Linked DNA regions of Homo sapiens: regions 1, 2, 3 and 4 are each linked to region 5. Evidence: promoter capture Hi-C in human tissues and cell types (Jung and others, 2019). All regions are on one chromosome and are shown on one strand. Each heading gives the region's core, a stretch centred on a gene start or on the middle of the fragment in contact. The rest is flanking DNA. Distances are from core to core; before and after follow the strand shown. Region 1 overlaps CAMKK2 (calcium/calmodulin dependent protein kinase kinase 2). Region 2 overlaps GATC (glutamyl-tRNA amidotransferase subunit C). Region 3 holds the start of COQ5 (coenzyme Q5, methyltransferase). Region 4 overlaps P2RX4 (purinergic receptor P2X 4). Region 5 holds the start of SPPL3 (signal peptide peptidase like 3).

Region 1 (3,939 bases), core at 728-3,227, 350 kb after region 5:
TTAGTGTGAGGGCATAAGGGGTGGTCCAGCCTCCAATCCTCCAGTTTTCCTTTGGGGAACCACCTCTTGACTTTCAGCCCTTGGAGTTGGGGCGGGACCAATCTTGTCTCCTAGGCTCTGGGGCAGGCACAGGATCCAGGCCAGGCCAATGAGAGCACCACTACCCCCAGCCACAGTGATTGGTTCAAGCATGGGCACATGACCCATGTTGGGCCAATCAGAGCCAACCCCAGGGTTTTCACAGGCACTATTCAGAATGAGGAATGCTCTTGCCACTGAGGTTGGCAAATGATAGAAAGTAACCTGGTCCCTGGGTGCCTGACCCACCTGTGGAGGAAACCAAATAAGAAAAACAACTGAAAGATGGCGGGAGATGGTTTCTGTTTGAGTCCCTGGATCTAGCCAAGCCTGAAGCCTACCCCTCAGTATCTTGATCCAGGGGATTCACTGTTTAAGCCTGTGTGCGTTGGGTTTCTGCTGCTTACAATCCAGAAGACACTAACACAGGCAGAACTCTGTGGCTGAGGCAGGCCCAAGCTTACCTTCCCAGAGAAGATCTTGCGGGTCTCAGAGAGCGACTCGGGTGCCATGAAGGCGGGCGTGCCCACGGTGTTGGAGAGGAGCGCGTCACTGCCCTTGAATTCATTGCTCACACCAAAGTCAGCGATCTTGATGTGCCCATCTTCTCCGACCAGGAGGTTGGAAGGTTTGATGTCACGGTGGATGATCTTCTGGTAGTGTACTGGGGAGGCGTAGACAGCAGGTGGGAGATAGGGGCAGGAAAACCTCGTGAGCACCTCTATGCGGCCACATGGCCTGGAGACACAGGCATGGCACCCCTCTGATGCCTTGTCTCCCACAGCCCCAGGCCTTTTCCAACCTTCCACTCCCCAAACCCGCTGGGCACTGACATGCTCTAAAAGATGAGGGGAAAAGTGTCTTCAAGGAAGTCCCAGCCCACCATCACCCCACCCCTTCTCAACAATGACACATAAAACACTGCCAATAGCAATTCGTAATCGCCTGTTATTTATTAAGTCACAAGTGACAGTGCATGGAAAGTTTTTGCTGGGCTTGGCTCACAGCTAGTTGTGAAACTGACAGTGAAACATAGTTTCATTTACCAACAGCCAATACTCAACTGATTTACCAAACCGACAATGACCTGAGCAGGCCGATTTGAAATGTGAACCACACACAGAACTCGGGGCTTGGCTAACTCCTCCTGGCTGGATATCAGCCCATGGTACAGGACAGTTCTATGGCCTGGAAGACCCAACTGCCATTTCTGGGGTGATGATGATGATGAAGACGATTTCAGTGAAAGCAGCAGCAGAGCACCAAGTGAGGGGCCCGGCCCTGCGTTGTGTTTCACATTCACATTTTACATTTAATTAAACCTCACAACCATCCTATGTGACAGGCAGGGATAAGAGATAACGTGGTGGCCGGGCACGGTGGCTCACGCCTGTCATCCCAGCACTTTGGGAGGCAAGGCAGGGGGATCACCTGAGGTCAGGAGTTCAAGACCAGCCTGGCCAACATAGCGAAACCCCATCTCTACAAAAAATACAAAAATTAGCCGGGCATGGTGGCGTACACCTGTAGTCCCAGCTACTTGGGAGGCTGAGGCATGAGAATTGCTTGAACCCAGGAGGCAGAGGTTGCAGTGACCTGAGATCGCGCCACTGCACTCCAGCCCAGGCAACAGGGCAAGAATCTCAAAGGAAAAAAAGAGCTAAGATGTTTAACAAGCAGAAGCAGAAAGGACACCTGCCAATCAAACCACTGATGTGTACTGGCTGATCTCAGCCCTGGTGAGAGATATGTTATCCCCATTTTACAGATGAGGAAGCTAAGGTTCCAGGAGGTGAACAGGACCCTGATCCCAGGGTCACTGGGAGGAATAAGAGACAAAAAAAATAGAGCCCCAAACAGTGCCTGGTGCACATAGAAAGTGCTAAATAGTCACTATTGCTACTGCTCTTCATTTTGCCAAGTGGCAGGAAGAAGGGTTTTGGCTCGCCTGGACCATGGCCATAGGGTGGCTCTCTGCAGCTGGCCCTGATTCTGCATTTCACACAATTCTGTTTCCCACTATGATGGTTGATACTGAGTGTCAACTTGATTGGACTGAAGGATACAAAGTATTAATCCTGGATGTGTCTGTGTGGGTGTTGCCAAAGGAGATTAACATTTGAGTCAGTGGGCTGGGGAAGGCAGACCCACAATCTAATCAGCTGCCAGCGAATATAAAGCAGGCAGAAAAACGTGAAAGGTGAGACTGGCCTAGCCTCCCAGCCTATGTTTTTTTCCTATCTGGATGCTTCCTGCCCTCAAACGTCAGACTCCACGTTCTTTAGTTTTGAGAGTTAGATGGGCTCTCCTTGCTCCTCAAGCTTGCAGACAGACTATATTGTGGGACCTTGTGATCGTGTAAGTTAATACTTAATAAACTCCCCTTTATATATATAATTATATATATAATTTTATATATATATAATTTTATATATATATAATTATATATATAATTTTATATATATATAATTATATATATAATTATATATATAATTTTATATATAATTTTATATATATATAATTATATATAATTTTATATATATAATTATATATATAATTTTATATATATAATTTTATATATATATATGTATCTCCTATTAGTTCTGTCCCTCTAGAGGACCCCAATCCACCCGCCCACCTCCCTGTGCTCCAGGAAGAAAATAAGACACTTTCCACTTTGCACCCACGCTCAGAATGCTAACTACCCACTGGGTGAGAGCCCTCCCGCAGGCCCTGCTCACAGTACTCGATGCCTTTGATCAGATCCTGGAAGTAGAAACGGGCCTGGTCTTCAGAGAGTGGTTTGAGGGTGGGCACTTCCATCACGGGCCTGAAAGGTCGACACTCATGTGAAACACAAAGCAGACCCGCCAGCCCTTGCCCTCTCTCATGAGCAGAGCCCAGTGGCACCTCACTCAGCTATGCAGCTACAGAAGCTTCTTGCATCACCCCTGCTGGGAGCTGGGACACTCACCCTTGGTTGACCAGTTCGAACACTGTAGGGAAGAAAAGGGTGAAACTGTTACATGGGAAACTGAACATCCATCTCTCTCTGTCCTCCCCACCTCCCAACCACCTCCAGAAACACCAAGAAAGACAGAAACTAGTATTAGAGCTGGGGAGAGGAACAGTCCACTGAACCAAGCTGGCCAAGGTCCTGCTTTGCTAAATTTCCATCAGAAGGCAAAGAACCAGGGATTTCTGACGTCCCCAGGCCCACAGTCTGGCTTGACTTCTAGTGCTCAAATTGGCCCAGGATCCACTGGTCAAAGAAAACACGGCAGGGGGCTGGGCACGGTGGCTCACGCCAGTGTAATCCCAACACTCTGGGAGGCCGAGGTGGGCGAATCACCTGAGGTCAAGAGCTCGAGACCAGCCTGGCCAACGTGGCAAAACCCTATCTCTACTAAAAATACAAAAATCAGCCGGGCGTGGTGGCAGGTGCCTGTAATCCCAGCTACTTGGGAGGCTGAGGCACAAGAATCACTTGAACCTGGACAGCGGAGGTTGCAGTGAGCCAAGATTGCACCCCTGCACTCTAGCCTGGGCAACAGAGCAAGAATGTCCCAAAAAAAAAATTTCTTTGAGATGAAATTTACGTAACATAAAATTACCCATTTTAAAGCGTGCAATTGAGTGGCATTTAGTATATTCACAATTTTGGGCAATCATCACAACTATCTAGTTCCAGAACATTCTCATCACCTCAAAAGAAAACCTCATACCCATTAGCAGTCACTCCCTATTCTTCCCTCCCTCAATCCCCTGGCCACCACCAATCTGTTTCCTGTCTCTATAGATTTGCCTGTTCTGGACATTTCATATAAATGGAATTGTACACTATGTGGCCTTTTGTGTCTG
Region 2 (4,471 bases), core at 25-2,524, 450 kb before region 5:
TCAGCCAGGATGGTCTTGATCTCCTGACCTCGTGATCTGCCCGCCTCAGTCTCCCAAAGTGCTGGGATCACAGGCATGAGGCACCGCGCCCGGCCTCTTAGCCATTTTTTAATACTGTCCAACAGAAACTATAAACTCCAGAAAGTCCAAGGGTTACCTTTGAATAGTATAATTATGATTTTTATTTTACTTTTGTTCTCCCAAGTTTTCTTAAATGAATACAGTCCTTGTGTTATTCAAAAAAAAAAAAAAATCTAGTACAACTCTCTTTTGTGTGTGTGTGTGTGAGACACTGTCTCACTCTGTCACCCAGGTTGGAGTGCAGTGGTGTGATCTCCGCTCACTACAAACTCTGCTTCCTACATTCAAGTGATTCTTGTGCCTCAGCCTCCCAGGTAGCTGGGATTACAGGTATGTACCACCATGCCCGGCTAACTTTTATATTTTTAGTAGAGACAGGGTTTCACCATATTGGATGGTCTCGAACTCCTGACCTCAGGTGATCCACCTGCTTTGGCCTCCCAAAGTGCTGGGATTACAGGCTTGAGCCACTGTGCCTGGCCTTTTTTTTTTTCTTCTTGCTCTGTCGCCCAGGCTTGAGTGCAGTGGTGCCATCTCAGCTCACTGCAACCTCCGCCTCCTGGGTTCAGGCGATTCTCCCGCCTCAGCCTCCCGAGTAGTTGGGATCACACGTGCGTGCCACCACGCTTGGCTAGTTTTTGTATTTTTAGTAGAGATGTGGTTTCCCCACGTTGCCCAGGCTGGTCTTGAACTCCTGAATTCAGGTGATCCACCCGCCTTAGCCTTCCAAAGTGCTGGGATTACATGCAAGAGCCACCACACCTGGCCTTTCTCCCCCACACCCCGCCGCCCCCCTCCAAGAAATTTAATGTCTGAAAAGATCATACTTGTTCAAGGCCACACAGTTAAGAATGTGCCAGGTCCTGTAACAGACTTCAACTTTCTAATATTCATACCATGAGTAAATATTTGTTGTGTCTAGCTTTGGGCTGGGTGCCACAAAAAAAGAACTAGTCCTTTCCTAAAATAATCTTATTGTGACAACTTAGTTCTCTTTTTTTTTGAGGCAGAGTATCGCTCTGTCGCCCAGGCTGGAGTGCAGTGGCGCGATCTCGGCTCACTGCAAGCTCCGCCTCCCGGGTTCACGCCATTCTCCTGCCTCAGCCTCCCAAGTAGCTGGGTCTACAGGCGCCCACCACCACGCCCGGCTAATTTTTTTGTATTTTTAGTAGAGATGGGGTTTCACCGTGTTAGCCAGGATGGTCTCGATCTCCTGACCTCGTGATCCGCCCACCTCGGCCTCCCAAAGTGCTGGGATTACAGGCGTGAGCCACCGCGCCCGGCTGACAACTTAGTTCTTATGTGCAGCCTTAGCCCAGATGTACCTGTCACATCTTTGTCCCTCTCTGACATGACTCAAACGCCATTAGGGTCTGCCCTCAGTCTGTGCCCACTCAAAGCAGGAGGAGCGTGGCTACTACCGAATACCATATCAGTGATTTAACAGACTGCTTATTTTTTTAATCTAAGTATCTGGAAGCAGGCTTACACACTTTTACACCTTGAAACAATAGTGAAGCCTCATGCAAATGTTCAAGCTCTTGTGTGTTTTTTACCGGTTTGCCATCTGAAGGCTTTAGTAAAGTCACTAGGTCCCACAGAACACTGGGAGATTCTTGAGCTGTTGGTGGCACATCTTGCTCAAGGGCAGGCACATCCACCAAAGTGGCTGTGGTGGAAAAAGCATTCATTTTAGGTGTATCAGATTGGGCTGAGATCCCAGTTGTTACTTAGCAGCCAACATCCTTAAGTTACTCTTGTGGCAAGTTTGCTTCCCCATCTCTGCTTAGCTTTCCAGCTTCATCTTCCACCCCGGCAGACCACACCCCAGCCTGCTAAACTCCCTGTCCTTCTCTGAATCTCTGAGCTCTCGGCTCTATTGCTTTGGGATTCATGCTGCTATACGTGCCAGGAAGTCCATTTCTCATACCTTCATCCCCCAATCCAGCTATTTCTTGCCCATCCTTGAACAGTGACATCAGCTATTCTGAGGATGTGCTACTCACGCAGGCTGGACTAGGTACCCTTTCTATCCTTTGGCAGGCTGTACTAACCTCTGTTAGATTTAAAATATTGTTTTTGTAATTGCTTTTACCTGTCCCCACCAAAAGACAGTTGCCCATATAATCATCAAAAACTATTTGTTAAATCAATCCAGAGAAGTAATTAGCACTTACTTCTCAGGGTTGTTCGGTCAATCTATAAACTGTAGGCTGTTATTTGGTCTACTGTTGATCCCAGCTTCTCTATCTTTGAACAGTGCCCATTAACTCAAGAATATACTGCTTCCTTGTTCTCTCCTTCTTGCCCCTCTCCATCATCCCCTAAAAGCCCCCTTCTCTGAGAGGGTAACCTTGAGCTTCTGGGTTTTGTAGATGTCTATACCTGAGATCCGACAATGTGGTAGAAGGCAACTGTGCTGATGAATTACTACAAAACTCCCATCGCGTCGTGGAGGAGTACTTTGTGGCCCCCCCAGGTACGTGCTGCCCAGAATGGTTTAACAGATAGTCTCACAGTAACCTTAGGAATGAAGCAGGAAGCATGAGGACCAAAGATGCTATGTGAAGGCACTTTGAAAAGGATGAAGTGCATACAGATGGTGGCATTAAGGTGGCAGTAGGGTCCAGGGTCATACTCACCTCTAGGGGGCAGTTAGTAACAGGAACAAGCAAAACAGGATTGGGGGCATGCGGGAGGTTTAAAGTAGGTGGAAATCTGGAGCTCAAGATCTCCCTAAAGGGGCAGCTGGCATTCAGTGTTTCTCAAAGCCACAGTTAAGACCCTGCCAGATCCTGTAATCGACTCCAACTTTCTAGTATTCATACCATGAATAAATATTTGTTAGGTCTAGCTTTGGGCTGGGTACCACAAAAAAACCAGTCCTTTCCTAAAAGAATCCTTTTTTTTTTTTTTTTTTTTTGAGACGGAGTTTCGCTCTTGTTGCCCAGGCTGGAGTGCAATGGTGCAATCTCGGCTCACCGCAACCTCCACCTCCCGGGTTCAAGCGATTCTCCTGCTCAGGCTCCCCAGTAGCTGGGATTACAGGCATGCACCAGCACGCCTGGCTAATTTTTTGTATTTTTAGTAGAGACAGGGTTTCACTGTGTTAGCCAGGATGGTCTCGATCTCCCGACCTCAGGTGATCCACCCACCTCGGCCTCCCAAAACGAATCTTATTGTGACAACTTAGTTATCATGTGTGGCCTTAGCCCAGATGTTTCTGTCACATCTTTGCCTATGACATGATTCAAACGCCATTAGGGTCTGCCCTCAGTCTGTGCCCATTCAAAGCAGGAGGAGCATGGCTGCTACCCTATCAGTGTTGCCAGGCAGGAATGTAAACCCATTTCTCCAGAGAACCTGGATACCTGACATTTTGTGTGATATTTCTTAAATTTTTTTTTTTTTTTTTGAGATGGAGTCTCGCTCGGTCACCCAGGCTGGAGTGCAATCTTGACTCACTGCAACCTCTGCCTCCCGGGTTCAAGCAATTCTCTGCCTCAGCCTGCCGAGTAGCTGGGATTACAGGTGCCTGCCACCATGCCTGGCTAATATTTTTGTATTTTTAGTAGAGGCAGGATTTCACCATCTTGGCCAGGCTAGTCTTGAACTGGTGATCTACCCGCCTCAGCCTCCCAAAGTGCTGGGATTACAGGGGTGAGCCACTGCACCCCGCCGATATTTCTTAAATTTTAAGTGCTAGCAACCAATTCAAAATTTAAAAAACAAAATACCATCCAAGCCAAATAAAACACATCTGCAAGCCAGGTGCAGTCTGTGAGCCATCAGTTTACAACAGCTGGTATAGAGATTTGCATCATCTACCTACTGTAAATATTTTAAATAGAAGCTTTAAAATTACTCTGGGCTGACAGTAAAATCCAGAACCTTGGATAGGTTGACTGTTTTTATCTCCTCTGCAGGTAGGTGAATACTTGGAGCTGTTGTACTACCCCTCTGGGCATCTGGGAGTGGGACTAGCCAAAAGCAATCAGGTAGCCTGCTAAGTGCCAACTTCCAGTTCAGGATATCCTGAGGGAGAATCATTCTGAGCAGACTCCACAGAAGACATTGGCCCTGGTCAGCTTAAGGTGCCAGTTAAAGGCAGGCTCTGGTTGATGCAAGGATGGGAAAGAAAGCTAGAAATTTTGTGAGCTAAACTTTTTGTTTGTTTTGAGACGGAGTCTTGCTCTGTTGCCCAAGCTGGAGTGCAGTGGCGCGATCTCGGCTCACTGCAAGCTCCACCTTCCACGTTCATGCCATTCTCCTGCCTTAGCCTCCCAAGTAGCTAGGACTACAGGCGCCCACCACAACGCCTGGCTAATTTTTTGTATTTTTAGTAGAGACGGGGTTTCACCGTGTTAGCCAGGATGGTCTCTCTCTCCTG
Region 3 (4,279 bases), core at 1,003-3,502, 380 kb before region 5:
GGAGTTTCACCGTGTTAGCCAGGATGGTCTCAATCTCCTGACCTCATGATCCACCCGCCTCGGCCTCTCAAAGTGCTGGGATTACAGGCGTGAGCCACTGCGCCCAGCCTACTCTTGGCAATTTTTTTACAAGGAAATAAAAGAATTTAATTCTCAAGGTTTCTAATTTTTTATTAGAATTTTTTTTCTTTGTTTTTGAGACAGTCTCACTGTGTCGCCCAGGCTAGAGTGCAGTGGCACAATCTCAGATCACTGCAACGTCCACCTCCCAGGTTCAAGAAATTTGCCTGCCTCAGCCTCCTAATTAGCTGTGATTACAGGCGTGCGTCACCATGCTTGGCTAATTTTTTTTGTATTTTTAGTAGAGATGAGGTTTCACCACGTTGGCCAGGCTGGTCTCGAACTCCTGACTTCAAGTGCCTACCTCGGCCTCCCAAAGTGCTGGGATTACAGGTGTGAACCATCGCACCTGGCTGTAAATAAATATCAACTTCAGTATATATTTTTTCATTTCACTATACATTTATAACTGACAGGGTTTTTGATGGTTGATAATTTTTAAAGGTCATAAAACAATTCTAATTTTTCCCATTGATTAAGGTCATTGTGTATGACTTCAGCTTGCACATTTTCACAGTCTTGCATTACTGTGCACAGCGAGGACTGTCTGTACTGCAATCTCAGTCCCCAATCTGGAATTCATATTTAGTTCAGTAGTTAACTTCTTCCTTGCTTGCCACTGTGTGAAATGTTGATTATACATTGATTATACATTGTAAAATGTTGATTATACATTGGCCGGTGTGGTGGCTCATGCCTGTAATCCCAGCACTTTGGGAGGCCGAGGCAGGTGGATCACGAGGTCAGGAGATCCAGACCATCCTGGCTAACATGGTGAAACCCTGTCTGTACTAAAAAAAAAATACAAAAAATTAGCCGGGCATGGTGGCGGGCCCCTGTAGTCCCAGCTACTCGGGAGGCTGAGGCAGGAGAATGGCGTGAAGCCAGGAGGCGGAGCTTGCAGTGAGCCGAGATCGCGCCACTGCCTTCCAGCCTGGGGGTGACAGAGAGAGACTCAGTCTCAAAAAAAAAAAAAAAAAAAAAAAAAAAAAAAAAAGAAACCCCGTCTCTACTGAAAATACAAAAATTAGCAGGGCACAGTGGCAGATGCCTGTAATCCCAGCTACTCAGGAGGCTGAGGCAGGAGGATCGCTTGAACCTAGGAGGCTGAGGTTGCAGTGAGCCCATATTGCGCCATTGCACTCCAGCCTGGGCAACAAGAGCGAAACTCCGTCTCAAAATAAATAAATAAATAAATAAATAAATAAAAACAACCAAAAAAACCCCTATTTTTCTCTAGAGGTAAAGAACGGGGGCTTCAGACTCAGATTAAACTGGGTTTGAATACTGGTTCCGCCACTTACTGATATGTTCAACTGGGCAACTTCTTGCTTAACCTTTAAGTCTCAATTTCCTCACGTGTAATATGGTAATAACAATACCCACTACTGGAATGTTGAAAATGAGAATTGAAAATAATGTCTGTACGTTGCCTGGCACATCACAAACGCTCAGTTGATGGGATTTAGTCATCAGTATTCTGCTTTTAAAAAGGGGGCGTCTGGCTGGGCGCGGTGGCTCACGCCTGTAATCCCAGCACTTTGGGAGGCCGAGGCAGGCGAATCACCTGAGGTCAGGAGTTCGAGACCAGCCTGGTGAAACCCCATCTCTAGTAAGAATACAAAAAAGTTAGCCGGGCGTGCTGGCGGGCGCCTGTAATCCCAGCTACTCGGGAAGCTGAGGCAGGAGAATCGCTTGAACCCGGGAGGCGGAGGTTGCAGTGAGCCAAGATCGGACCATTGCACTCCAGTGTGGGCAACAAGAGCGAAATTCTGTCTCCAAAAAAAAAAAAAATCATAACTGCACAGACAACAACACTGGAACTAATTGGATGTTAAATCAACCCTAACTGGCCAGAAGAAACCAGACCATGGACGGTCAGATCCCTCCCATCCGCCCTCTCGCCCCTTTCACCTTTGCCCCCCTTCTCCTCTTCCGACACAGTCTCAAACCCAAAGTGCGTTTCCGCTGCCCGCTTCTCTTGGGACAAGAGCCGAGCACTTAGTAGGTCCCCGGGCCAAGAGCTACGAAGCCCGAGGAGCTGGCAGCCCCGCATCGCCCGCGACCACCCACGGCCGCAATAGCTCCATAGAGCACAGCTCCCGGGGGCCGCCATCTTGGTAGTCGAGTGACAACGGCCAGAGAGTACGCCTTGTTGCGTCACTCCACGAACGACGGCGGCTGGCCGGCAACATTATTAGCCGAACGCGCCCTGAAATCTGATACACAGTTGTGCCGGCATTATCTCTAGGATCCAAAGGGTGGTCTCTAAGTATCGGAAATCCCTTCCTCTCTCTCTTCTCAAATTGAATTTACAATTCACCAGGAATCAGGGGATCTCAGGGGAGCCCCGGGTCACCTCTTAGCGGCCATGTCTCTGAATCCGGCTAGGCAGAAAAGTACTAACTCGCAAGATATCCAGGAACTCTTGTTGTCTTGTGCAGAAGGGGGAAATTGAGGCATGGTGTGGTTAAAAAGCCAAGATCACGGGCCAATTCCTGCACACTTTGTTGAGCGTAAGAATCACTTGGTTTACGTTTTAAAATGAAGATTCCTGGGTCCCCAACTACCAGAGATTTTGATCTGACCTATATCCCTTTAATCTCTATTTAAACAAATTTCTCTGGCGATTCTGATGCTAAAGATGCAGACCATTCTTGAGAAACATATGTTACACTACTCTGAAAAATAAACATAGGACAGACTTCTTTGTTCTGTCCGTTTTATGAACCTAGGAAGCTCATAAATGGGAACGAAAGCTCTGGTATCCACTTAGCAAGCCAGAACCACCACTCACACTTGGTCTCCTGCTGACACAAAGCTACATTCCTAGCTCCAGGTGGCATGTCATGGGTGTTTTACTTCAGCCCCAGATTTTCAGTCTTTTTTTAATGGCAAGGGTAATGCAGACCGTCTTGTGCAAAATAAAGAACGGACGTTGTTGAGTTTTGCTTGGATTACTGTATGTTTCTGCTTTCATTCCATTTTAAATGTATGTTTCCTGTAAATATTTCACGAGGAGAAAGCGCCAATAGAAGAAACTGTTTTGAAATGAAAATTCTCTTCCTGGTTTAATATAGCCTGACAGATGGACACCTAACCGCTTTCGTTTGGGAAGTACTGCGCTGGGATTTCTGTTTCTTTCTCTTTTATTTTAAGAATGATAGAAGGTCCTCGTTGGTATAGTGATGAGAAAAAAAAAAGGAAGGATACAAGGGCGAAATGATTCATCCATGTATTCATAATTCTCATGTCTTTGTTAAAAGAAATTAAGTGGCTGGGTGCGGTGGCTCACGCCTGTAATCCCAACACTTTGGGAGCCCGAGGTGGGCGGATTGCATGAGGTCAGGAGTTCGAGACCAGCATGGCTAACATGGTGAAACCCCGTCTCTACTAAAATACAAAAATCAGCCAGGCATGGTGGTGCACACCTGTAGTCCCAGCTATTCAGGAGGTTGAAGCAGGAGAATCCCTTCAACCCAGGAGTCACTGGTTGCAGTGAGCTGAGATTGCACCACTGCACTCAAGCCTGGGTGACAGAGCCAGACTCCATCTCAAAAATAAATAAATAAATAAATAAATAAATAAATAAAGTCTCATCAAAGAATCTTATATCTTCCATATCTAGTTATATAAAAGAATGGATCTCAGGATTTAGGGCTGTTCCTTCTGCACATCAGATTAAGTATCCAGACCAACAGTATTTCACTGTTCTCTTATTTCATATGATATGTGGAGGAAAACCTGTAAAAAGTGAAGTAGGACAAGGACTGTTGGAAGGTATTTTTTTTTTGAGGTAGCGTCTTGCTCTGTTGCCCAGACTGGAGTGCAGTGGCATGACTTCGGCTCACTGCAACCTCTGTCTTCTGGGTTCAAGTGATCCTCCTGCCTCAGCTTCCCTAGTAGCTGGGATTACAGGCATGCGCCACCATGCCAGGCTAATTTTTGTATTTTTAGTAGAGATGGGGTTTCGCTATATTGGCCAGGCTGGTCTTGAACTCCTGACTTCAGGTAATCCACCTGCCTCAGCCTCCCAAAGTGCTGAGCCACCACTCCCGGCGCTAATTTTTGTATTTTTAGTAGAGATGGGGTTTCACCATTTTGGCTAGGCTGGTCTTATTTACTTATTTATTGATTCATTCTTTATTTTGAAATAGGA
Region 4 (3,850 bases), core at 1-2,500, 330 kb after region 5:
TATATGTATATATGTGTATATATATATATAGCCATTATATATATAGCCATTATATATATATATTTTTTTTTTTTTCTTCTTTTTTAAGGGAGTGACTTGCTCTGTCACCCAGGTTGGAGTGCAGTGGTGCGATTTCAGCTCACTGCAGCCTTTGCCTCCCGGGTTCAAGACATTCTCCTGCCTCAGCCGCCTGAGTAGCTGGGATTACAGGCGCCCGCCACCACACCCAGCTAATTTTTTGTATTTTTATTAGAGACGGGGTTTCTCCACATTGGCCAGGGTGGTCTCGAGCTCCTCACCTCAAGTGATCCACCTGCCTCGGCCTCCCAAAGTGCCGGAATTACAGGTGTGAGCCACCGCACCCAGCCATATATTTTTAAATGGTCTTACTGAGATGCAATTCACATGCCATACCGTTCACACATTTGAAGTGCAGAATTCATAGTTTTCACTATATTCACAGATAAGTGCAGGCTTCACCACAGTCGATTTTAGAACATTTCCGTCATCTCAAAAAGAAACCCTGCACCCTTCTGTCATCCCCCGGCCCCTGGCAACAGTGGTCTACTTTCTGTCTCTGCAGATGTGCCTCTTCTGAGCATTTCATATAATCAATATGTGGCCTTTTGCGTCTGGCTCCTTCCCCTTAGCCTGATGTTTTCAAGCTTCATCCATGTCGTAGCCTGTGTCAGTACCTCGTCTCTTTTTATGGCCAAATCATATTCTGCTGTGTTGACAGACGACGTTTTGTTCATCTCTTTATCTGTGTGACGAACGAGTGGTTCTTTTTGTTGTTGTTGTTGTTGTTGAAGACTGTGTGCACAGAATCAATGTTTCTTTGAAAAAATAAATAAATTTAAAAAGCCCTAGGTCAAGAGATTGAGACCATCATGGCCAACTTGGTGAAACCCCGTCTCTACTAAAAAATCCAAAAATTAGCTGGGCATGGTGGTGTGCGCCTGTAGTCCCAGCTACTCGGGAGGCTGAGGCAGAAGAATTGCTTGAACTGGGGAGGTGGAGGTTGCAGTGAGCCAAGATTGGTGCCCCTACACTCCAGCCTGGCAACAGAGGGAGACTCCATCTCAAAAAAAAAAAAAAAAAAAGTCCCTGCACTGATGCTGTGTTGGGGCTGGCTTAGTCCCCTCCTGCAATGCTGGCTGGTCACATTCTTACTGTTAGATGTTGGAGGTCAGGGTCCCTTGAGGGAGGCAGGCAGGATGTACCAGGTGGGATGTTGAGAGCAAACTGTTCAGGTTCAGGAGAGGACACTGGTGCTGGAGGAGGAGGTCTCCCTGTGCCCCTGTACCTCGTGGGCCCCGCATCCTCCTGCTTGCACAGCCCGCCTCAGCCAGGAGAGGCCCCGAGCCGCTCCAGCGTCCATTCAGCCGGCAGAGTGGACCATTCACCTGTGCCAGCTCCACTCTAACGTTCTCTCACAGGGCCCAAGGTCCTGCCCCAGCCATCTCCCCCTGATCCATCCTCCTTCCCCTCAGGTTTGCCAAGTACTACAGAGACCTGGCTGGCAACGAGCAGCGCACGCTCATCAAGGCCTATGGCATCCGCTTCGACATCATTGTGTTTGGGAAGGTAGCTCGCCGCCACTGGCTCCCCTCCGTCACTCCCTGCAGGGACAAGGGGCCTCTCCCTGCCCCTGCAGAAACACTTTTTTTCTTTTTCGGTGTCTTGGCAGGCAGGGAAATTTGACATCATCCCCACTATGATCAACATCGGCTCTGGCCTGGCACTGCTAGGCATGGTGAGTGGTTTAGGCCCTGCCTTCACCCTCACGGTGAGGTGAGACCCTGGGCTGGGGTCCTGGTCCTGGCCCTAGGCCCTAGACCTCAGATGTGTTTCTAAACTTGACCCTCCTACCTTCTTTCCCTTGGCCCCCAGCCCTCCTCCCACCTTCCCTTCTCCAAGACCACCCCCCTCAGGTCCCAGCCTTCTCCCAAGAGATGGGAGTGCCTTTCCATTCCGGTAAAGATTCCAGGCTTCTCAGGAAGGGGCACGCAAAGAATAAGATGGGTTGATGGGTTGCAAGCATCCTGGCTCACTCTCACCCTATGCTAAACTCAGGCGACCGTGCTGTGTGACATCATAGTCCTCTACTGCATGAAGAAAAGACTCTACTATCGGGAGAAGAAATATAAATATGTGGAAGATTACGAGCAGGTAGGCCCCTCCTGGCCCCCAGCAGGCACAGGCCTCTCATCTCTTGGGTGTGGGAGCCCTGGGCGTGGGCCTGTCTGGGGAGGCCCTTCTGCAGAGGCTGGCACCAGTGTGGCGTGGTGTCCCCGTTAACCCGGGCAGTCCTGCCACTCTCAGCAGCTGCTCCATCCCTAGGCCCCTGTACTAGATTGACTCTTTAAACCCAGCCTCGTTTCAATGAGCGACATCTCAGGTTGGTGATGATAATGCATGCTCTGAGAATGCCTGTGGGCACACACTACTTCAGTGCACCTTGCGGAACAGGAAGGGTTGGGTTCCAGGCCTGGGACCAACTTGAGAACCCCTGGCGGTGAAGTCCCAGGAGCGCACCTCCCTCCCGCCTGCCACAAGGGGTCCCAGGGGCACCTTGATCTGCTTGTGTCCTTCTTTGCAGGGTCTTGCTAGTGAGCTGGACCAGTGAGGCCTACCCCACACCTGGGCTCTCCACAGCCCCATCAAAGAACAGAGAGGAGGAGGAGGGAGAAATGGCCACCACATCACCCCAGAGAAATTTCTGGAATCTGATTGAGTCTCCACTCCACAAGCACTCAGGGTTCCCCAGCAGCTCCTGTGTGTTGTGTGCAGGATCTGTTTGCCCACTCGGCCCAGGAGGTCAGCAGTCTGTTCTTGGCTGGGTCAACTCTGCTTTTCCCGCAACCTGGGGTTGTCGGGGGAGCGCTGGCCCGACGCAGTGGCACTGCTGTGGCTTTCAGGGCTGGAGCTGGCTTTGCTCAGAAGCCTCCTGTCTCCAGCTCTCTCCAGGACAGGCCCAGTCCTCTGAGGCACGGCGGCTCTGTTCAAGCACTTTATGCGGCAGGGGAGGCCGCCTGGCTGCAGTCACTAGACTTGTAGCAGGCCTGGGCTGCAGGCTTCCCCCCGACCATTCCCTGCAGCCATGCGGCAGAGCTGGCATTTCTCCTCAGAGAAGCGCTGTGCTAAGGTGATCGAGGACCAGACATTAAAGCGTGATTTTCTTAATCCCTGTCTGTTGTCTCATAGCATGTGCTAGAACTTTCCTTCCTACCCTTTTACGACAACCAGTAAATCCACTATTCCGGCTCACTGTGCTCAGAAAAGGTCCATGGGATGGTCTGTTTCTGGCACTTATGCACATTTTCCCCTACTTCTTTATTTATTTATTTTATTTTTGAGGCAGAGTCTCACTCTGTCGCCCAGGCTGGAGCGCAGTGGTGCAATCTCGGCTCATTGCAACCTCTGCCTCCCGGGTTCAAGCGATTCTCCTGCCTCAGCCTCCCGAGTAGCTGGGATTACAGGTGCATGCCACCATGCCCGGCTAATTTTTGTATTTTTAGTAGAGACAGGGTTTCACCACATTGGCCAGCCAGGCTGGTCTCGAACTCCTGACCTCAAATGATCCATCTGCCTTAGCCTCTCAAAGTGATTGGATTACAGGTGTGCGCCACCACACCTGGCCTATTTATTTTTTTTATTACCCAGGCTGGAGTGCAGTGGCGCAATCACTGCTCACTGCAGTCTCCACCTCCTGGGCTTAAGCGATCCTCCTACCTCAGCCTCCCATAGTGCTGGGATTACAAGCATGAGCCACTGCACCCAGCTGCCTACTTTTTAAAGCCTAATAATTTGTCATTAGCTTGTCTTCCTGCACAGTTCACAGGACACT
Region 5 (4,365 bases), core at 479-2,978:
ACCTCCGAAATAGGTCTTCCAACTCCACACGGCATGCTCGTCCCATTCTATTATGCTCTTTTCTAAGAAGGGAATGTCTACAGTTCTGTCCCAAACCACATTTGCTTCAAGAGTAAACCATCTTCAAACCATTTCTCTAAATTGCAATCAGGTCCCCCACTCCTACGATCATGCCATTTCTTGCTTCCTCACTCTCCAGCTATGACTTCCTTCTCACTACCCGATTTCCACTCTTCATGGATACTGCCATCATTCCTTCAACCCGTCCTGCAAATATCCCACCTCTACATGCTAAAGGGAGACCCCTCATGTTCCTTCCCCCAAACCCTGGCACTCCCTTCTCCGGATATGTAGGTTGTCACCCCATAAACTACACAGTAGCTTCTCGCTTCTCGGCCCTTAACGAGCTACTTACTAACTTTAAAAGCCCCACAGAAATGAACTTAACTTGCAGGTCCTCCACCTCCACACTTGGCCCTGGGCGCCATTCCTCTGAAAATAATAGTACCAACCCTTACAAAGACTCTGCCCATGCCCCACTGTCACCAACGAATTCCTTTTCCAGAAGGAAAAGGAAACAGGTTCTTCAGGCTCCTCTTCCAACCTCTTCACCAGTGACTCCCCTCCAAGGTTCGTGGACTCTACCCCCGCAGTTTTCCTCCCCTCACTCCCGGGCCTCTGCCCACCTCACCAACTCTCCCTGCGCTCCCTGTCCCAGAGCCAAGCGGCGGCCGCTCCACTCTCCCAACTTAGAAGTTCTGCCTCTATCACCTGTTCTCACTAGAGCTTCCTCTCAGCCCAGCGGCCCACCTTTGCCCTGGCCTGCCTCTCTCCACCCCTTCGAGTCCTCCTGCCCAGGAAACACCCCCACGAGTCAGTTCCGGGGTGCCTGTCGGATTCAACTTCCCATCCGTGGGATTCCCACCCCCGGGGTCATGCTCCCCTTCTCCATCACCTGCTCCGCCCATAGCCAGATGACATCCGCCGCTGCCTCCTCCTCCATTCCCCTTCTCGGACGCCAGGTCCCCGGCCACTCACCGCCCTCCGTGCGCGCCAGCCGCCCCCTCCGGTGGGGAAGAGGGGGGCGTGCACCCCAACCCGCGCCCCCCCCCCACGACACGCACCTGTTCTTCCTCCTCTTCCCCTCGGCGGGCCGCGCCGGCGCCCCGACCCCCACCCTTGCCGCCTCCCGGCCTCCCGGAGCCCCGCACTCACCACGAGTAGGTCTGCTCCGCCATGGCGCTGCCTCTCGTGGGCTCCGCTGCAGGCTGTGGCCGGGCCCGGCGGCGGCGGGCTCGCTCGGGCCGTAGCTGAAGGCGCGGCCGGGGTCCGGTGCTTGCTTGCTTGCTCGCTCGCTGGCTCGCTGGCTGCACGGCGGGCCGGGAAGGCGGCTGGCGGGGAGAGGCCGGGCTCCGAAGCGGCCCCGCTCCCTGGGCCCCGGGGCGGGGCGGGCTCCGCTCTCGGCCTCCCTCACCCGCGGCGGCGGCGGCGGCTCCGCTGCAGCTCCAAACCCAACATGGCGGCGGCGGCGGCGCGGAGAACAAGGGGGCCCTGGGGCGGGCGAACGGCAAGACGGGCCCGCGCTCACTGCGCGCGGGGCCGCGGGAGCGCCGCGCTCGGGCGGCGGCGGCGGCGGCCGGGGGACATGGCCGGCGGGCGGAGGCGGCGGCGACTGAGGGGGGCGCTAGGCGATGAGGCGAGGCCACTCGATCACACCCGCCGAGGGGAGGAGGGGCGGGGGCGGGGGCGAGCCTTGGCCCCGCGCGGGTCACGTGCCCAAAACACGCTCACGTGATGCGCGCCCCGCCCCTCGAGCCGGGCCCATGCGCAGAGACGTCGGCTCCTGGGTTCTAGGCGGCTGCTGCTCGCACAGCCAGAGCAGTTGGGCCGCCTCCCGCTGCCTGGTGCCGCCCCCCTCCCCACGCGGAGATGTCGCCTCGGGTACCCTCTTCCGCCCCTCTCCGAGGGGCTGCTGCACCAGCCAATCGGGAACCCCGATGCGCGTCTGTTGGCTGCCACTCAGCTGTCAACCGTCAGTCAACAGTCTGCTGGCCACGGGCCCCCCAACTGTCAGTCAACCTGTCAGTCAACAGGCAGAGGGCTGCATTCCTTCGTTCGTATGTTCCTTGGTTCATTCATTCAGGTAGCAAATATTCCAGGCAGCCAACCTTTATTGCGCCCAGGCCCGGCACCAAGTCGAATACCCCACGCTTGCCTTCACAGAATCAATCAACAGATATTTGTTGGGTGCCAACCATGTGTCAACTCACTCTGCCTTCCTAGAGCTTACATTCTAAAGGAAGAGACATAGTCCAAGCCCACAAATAAGATAATTTCAGATGCTGCTAAGTTTTACAAAAACACATTTTGTAACACAAGGTGAGGGGACAGAGAGTGAGCAGAGGTGTGGGTTACTTTAGATAGGGTGGTCAAGGAAGGCCTCGCTTAGGAGGTGACATTTGAGCTGATATTGAATGATGACAGAGAGCTGGCCTTGCAAAGATCCACAGGAAAAGAGTTCCTGGCAGAGGGAACAGCAAGGGCAGAAGGCTCAGGAAACCGTCCATTTGGAGGTCTGGAAACCGGCACAGAAATAAACACGGTAGAGCTAGACCAGAGACCAACAAAGTGAATCTGGAGCTTAGATGGAGAGAGAAGAGAGAGATTAATTGAGGCCCCAGGTACTGCGGAATGCTTCCCCAGGAGTGGATGAGGCCGTCTGAAAGGGTGAGAGGCTTATCAAAGAAAAGTCATTCTTTTGGCCGGGCGCGGTGGCTCACGCCTGTAGTCCCAGCACTTTGGGAGGCCGAGGTGGGTGGATCATGAGGTCAGGAGATCGGGACCATCCTGGTTAACACGGTGAAACCCTGTCTCTACTAAAAATACAAAAAATTAGCCGGGCGTGGTGGTGGACGCCTGTAATCCCAGCTACTCAGGAGGTTGAGGCAGGAGAATGGCGTGAACCCCGGAGGCAGAGCTTGCAGTGAGCCGAGATTGCGCCACTGCACTCCAGCCTGGGCAACAGCGAGACTCTGTCTCAAAAAAAAAAAAAGAAAAAGAAAAAGAAAAAGAAAAAAAAAAAAGAAAAGGCATTCTAGAAAGAAAGAATGGCATGAAGTAAGGCCCAATTCCTGGTGAGCTTGAATCCGAGAGTGGGATGGGTGATTTGTGCTGGAGTGTTGAGAAAATATACTGAGAAGGTGCACTGAGGCCAGACTTTGAGGGCCCAGCTAAGCCTCCTTGCCAGTTACTGTGTTCATGAATAAAAATGATTAACCAGTGCAGCTTCAGAATTTAGAAACATGCCTGGGCAACAGATACACTAACCCTCCTGGACACCCCTCCACCCCCACCCTTCACCCCCCTGTTTCTCTGCAGAAGGCAAAACTCACACACCTGAAACCAACGTACTCAAGCTTCTCTGCAGCTTGCCCAACTTTAGGCCAGAATTTAGCTCTGCTCCAGTTTCCCAGGGCCTGCCCAGGCTTACAGGGAACACCACACCCTGAATCTATCTCCAAATGGATCAGTTGGCCATTGCCCATACATCTGCCGCTTGCCTGTTCCCCAAGGGAAACCCTTTAAAGAGAAAGCCAAGTACACTTTCCCTTCAGAAGCAAAGCTCTCCTTCCTTATTCCCCCACTGCCAGGTGCCAGGACCAGTTAGGTTCCAAGTGTTTCCTCCAAAGCTCTATCAGAGAGCCCTGGGAAAAGGCTCACTGATGAGATTGAGGTCCAGGCCGGGCGCGATGGCTCACGCCTGTAATCCCAGCACTTTGGGAGGCCAAGGCAGGTGGATCATGAGGTCAAGAGGTCGTGACTATCCTGGCCAACATGGTGAAACCCCATCTCTACTAAAAATACAAACATTCGCTGGACGTGGTGACCCATGCCTATAGTCCCAGCTACTTGGGAGGCCTGAGGCAGTAGAATCGCTTGAACCGGGGAGTGGAGGTTGCAGTGGACCTAGATCACGCCACTGCACTCCAGCCTGGCGACAGAGTGAGACTCCGTCTCAAAAAAAAAAAAAAAAAAAAAAGATCGAGGTCCAGGGGAGGGTTTGAGGCAGGGCAACAAGAAAATATCAAATCACCAGGGACCCTTAGTCTCACTATTCACAAGAAGACACTGGCCTGCAAAGATCTGTCCAGCCATAAACCCACCAGATGCAGGGATATTAAGGGGAGATGAGAAGGCAAAGGGGCTAAATTCTTTTTTAAAAAATTTTTTTAATTTAATTACTTTTTTTGTTTGTTTTTGAGACAGAGTCTTGCTCTGTCACTCAGGCTGGAGTGCAGTGGCGTGATCTCAGCTCACTGCAACCTCTGCCTCCCAGGTTCAAGCAATTCTGCCTCAGCCTCCCAA

What was found. Contacts are between HindIII fragments. The study calls those that stand out against the background at their distance.
Region 1: a contact is called between a fragment that was not itself captured here and the fragment with the promoter of SPPL3 in region 5, in 1 of the 25 tissues and cell types used here (dorsolateral prefrontal cortex).
Region 2: a fragment that was not itself captured here is called in contact with the fragment with the promoter of SPPL3 in region 5 in 1 of the 25 tissues and cell types used here (hippocampus).
Region 3: a contact is called between the fragment with the promoter of COQ5 here and the fragment with the promoter of SPPL3 in region 5, in 1 of the 25 tissues and cell types used here (dorsolateral prefrontal cortex).
Region 4: a fragment that was not itself captured here is called in contact with the fragment with the promoter of SPPL3 in region 5 in 1 of the 25 tissues and cell types used here (hippocampus).

What each region holds. Positions count from the first base shown.
Region 1 is chr12:121,252,731-121,256,669 of GRCh38, forward strand. CAMKK2 (calcium/calmodulin dependent protein kinase kinase 2) reads right to left here. Exons shown (of 17, transcript NM_001270485.2): 8 at 3,053-3,074; 9 at 2,820-2,908; 10 at 543-742. Among named protein-coding and RNA genes, the nearest start is that of CAMKK2, 42 kb to the right of the region's middle. RefSeq lists an enhancer at 2,863-3,363. The HindIII fragment of the contact is 4,173 bases long and covers 1-3,939 here.
Region 2 is chr12:120,454,620-120,459,090 of GRCh38, forward strand. It overlaps GATC (glutamyl-tRNA amidotransferase subunit C), which reads left to right. Exons shown (of 4, transcript NM_176818.3): 3 at 2,457-2,560. Among named protein-coding and RNA genes, the nearest start is that of GATC, 10 kb to the left of the region's middle. The HindIII fragment of the contact is 8,224 bases long and covers 1-4,471 here.
Region 3 is chr12:120,526,906-120,531,184 of GRCh38, forward strand. It overlaps COQ5 (coenzyme Q5, methyltransferase), which reads right to left and starts at 2,253. Exons shown (of 7, transcript NM_032314.4): 1 at 2,035-2,253. The coding sequence starts at 2,236. RefSeq lists enhancers at 1,243-2,013, 2,014-2,783, 2,130-2,589. The HindIII fragment of the contact is 25,598 bases long and covers 1-4,279 here.
Region 4 is chr12:121,230,921-121,234,770 of GRCh38, forward strand. It overlaps P2RX4 (purinergic receptor P2X 4), which reads left to right. Exons shown (of 12, transcript NM_002560.3): 9 at 1,494-1,587; 10 at 1,691-1,756; 11 at 2,077-2,172; 12 at 2,603-3,186. The coding sequence ends at 2,629. Among named protein-coding and RNA genes, the nearest start is that of P2RX4, 23 kb to the left of the region's middle. RefSeq lists an enhancer at 2,822-3,449. The HindIII fragment of the contact is 4,980 bases long and covers 1-3,740 here.
Region 5 is chr12:120,902,630-120,906,994 of GRCh38, forward strand. It overlaps SPPL3 (signal peptide peptidase like 3), which reads right to left and starts at 1,729. Exons shown (of 11, transcript NM_139015.5): 1 at 1,216-1,729. The coding sequence starts at 1,238. It overlaps XLOC_009911 (a long non-coding RNA gene), which reads left to right and starts at 2,066. Exons shown (of 2, transcript NR_131215.1): 1 at 2,066-2,143. RefSeq lists silencers at 1,079-1,128, 1,269-1,488, 1,569-1,928. The HindIII fragment of the contact is 15,749 bases long and covers 1-4,066 here.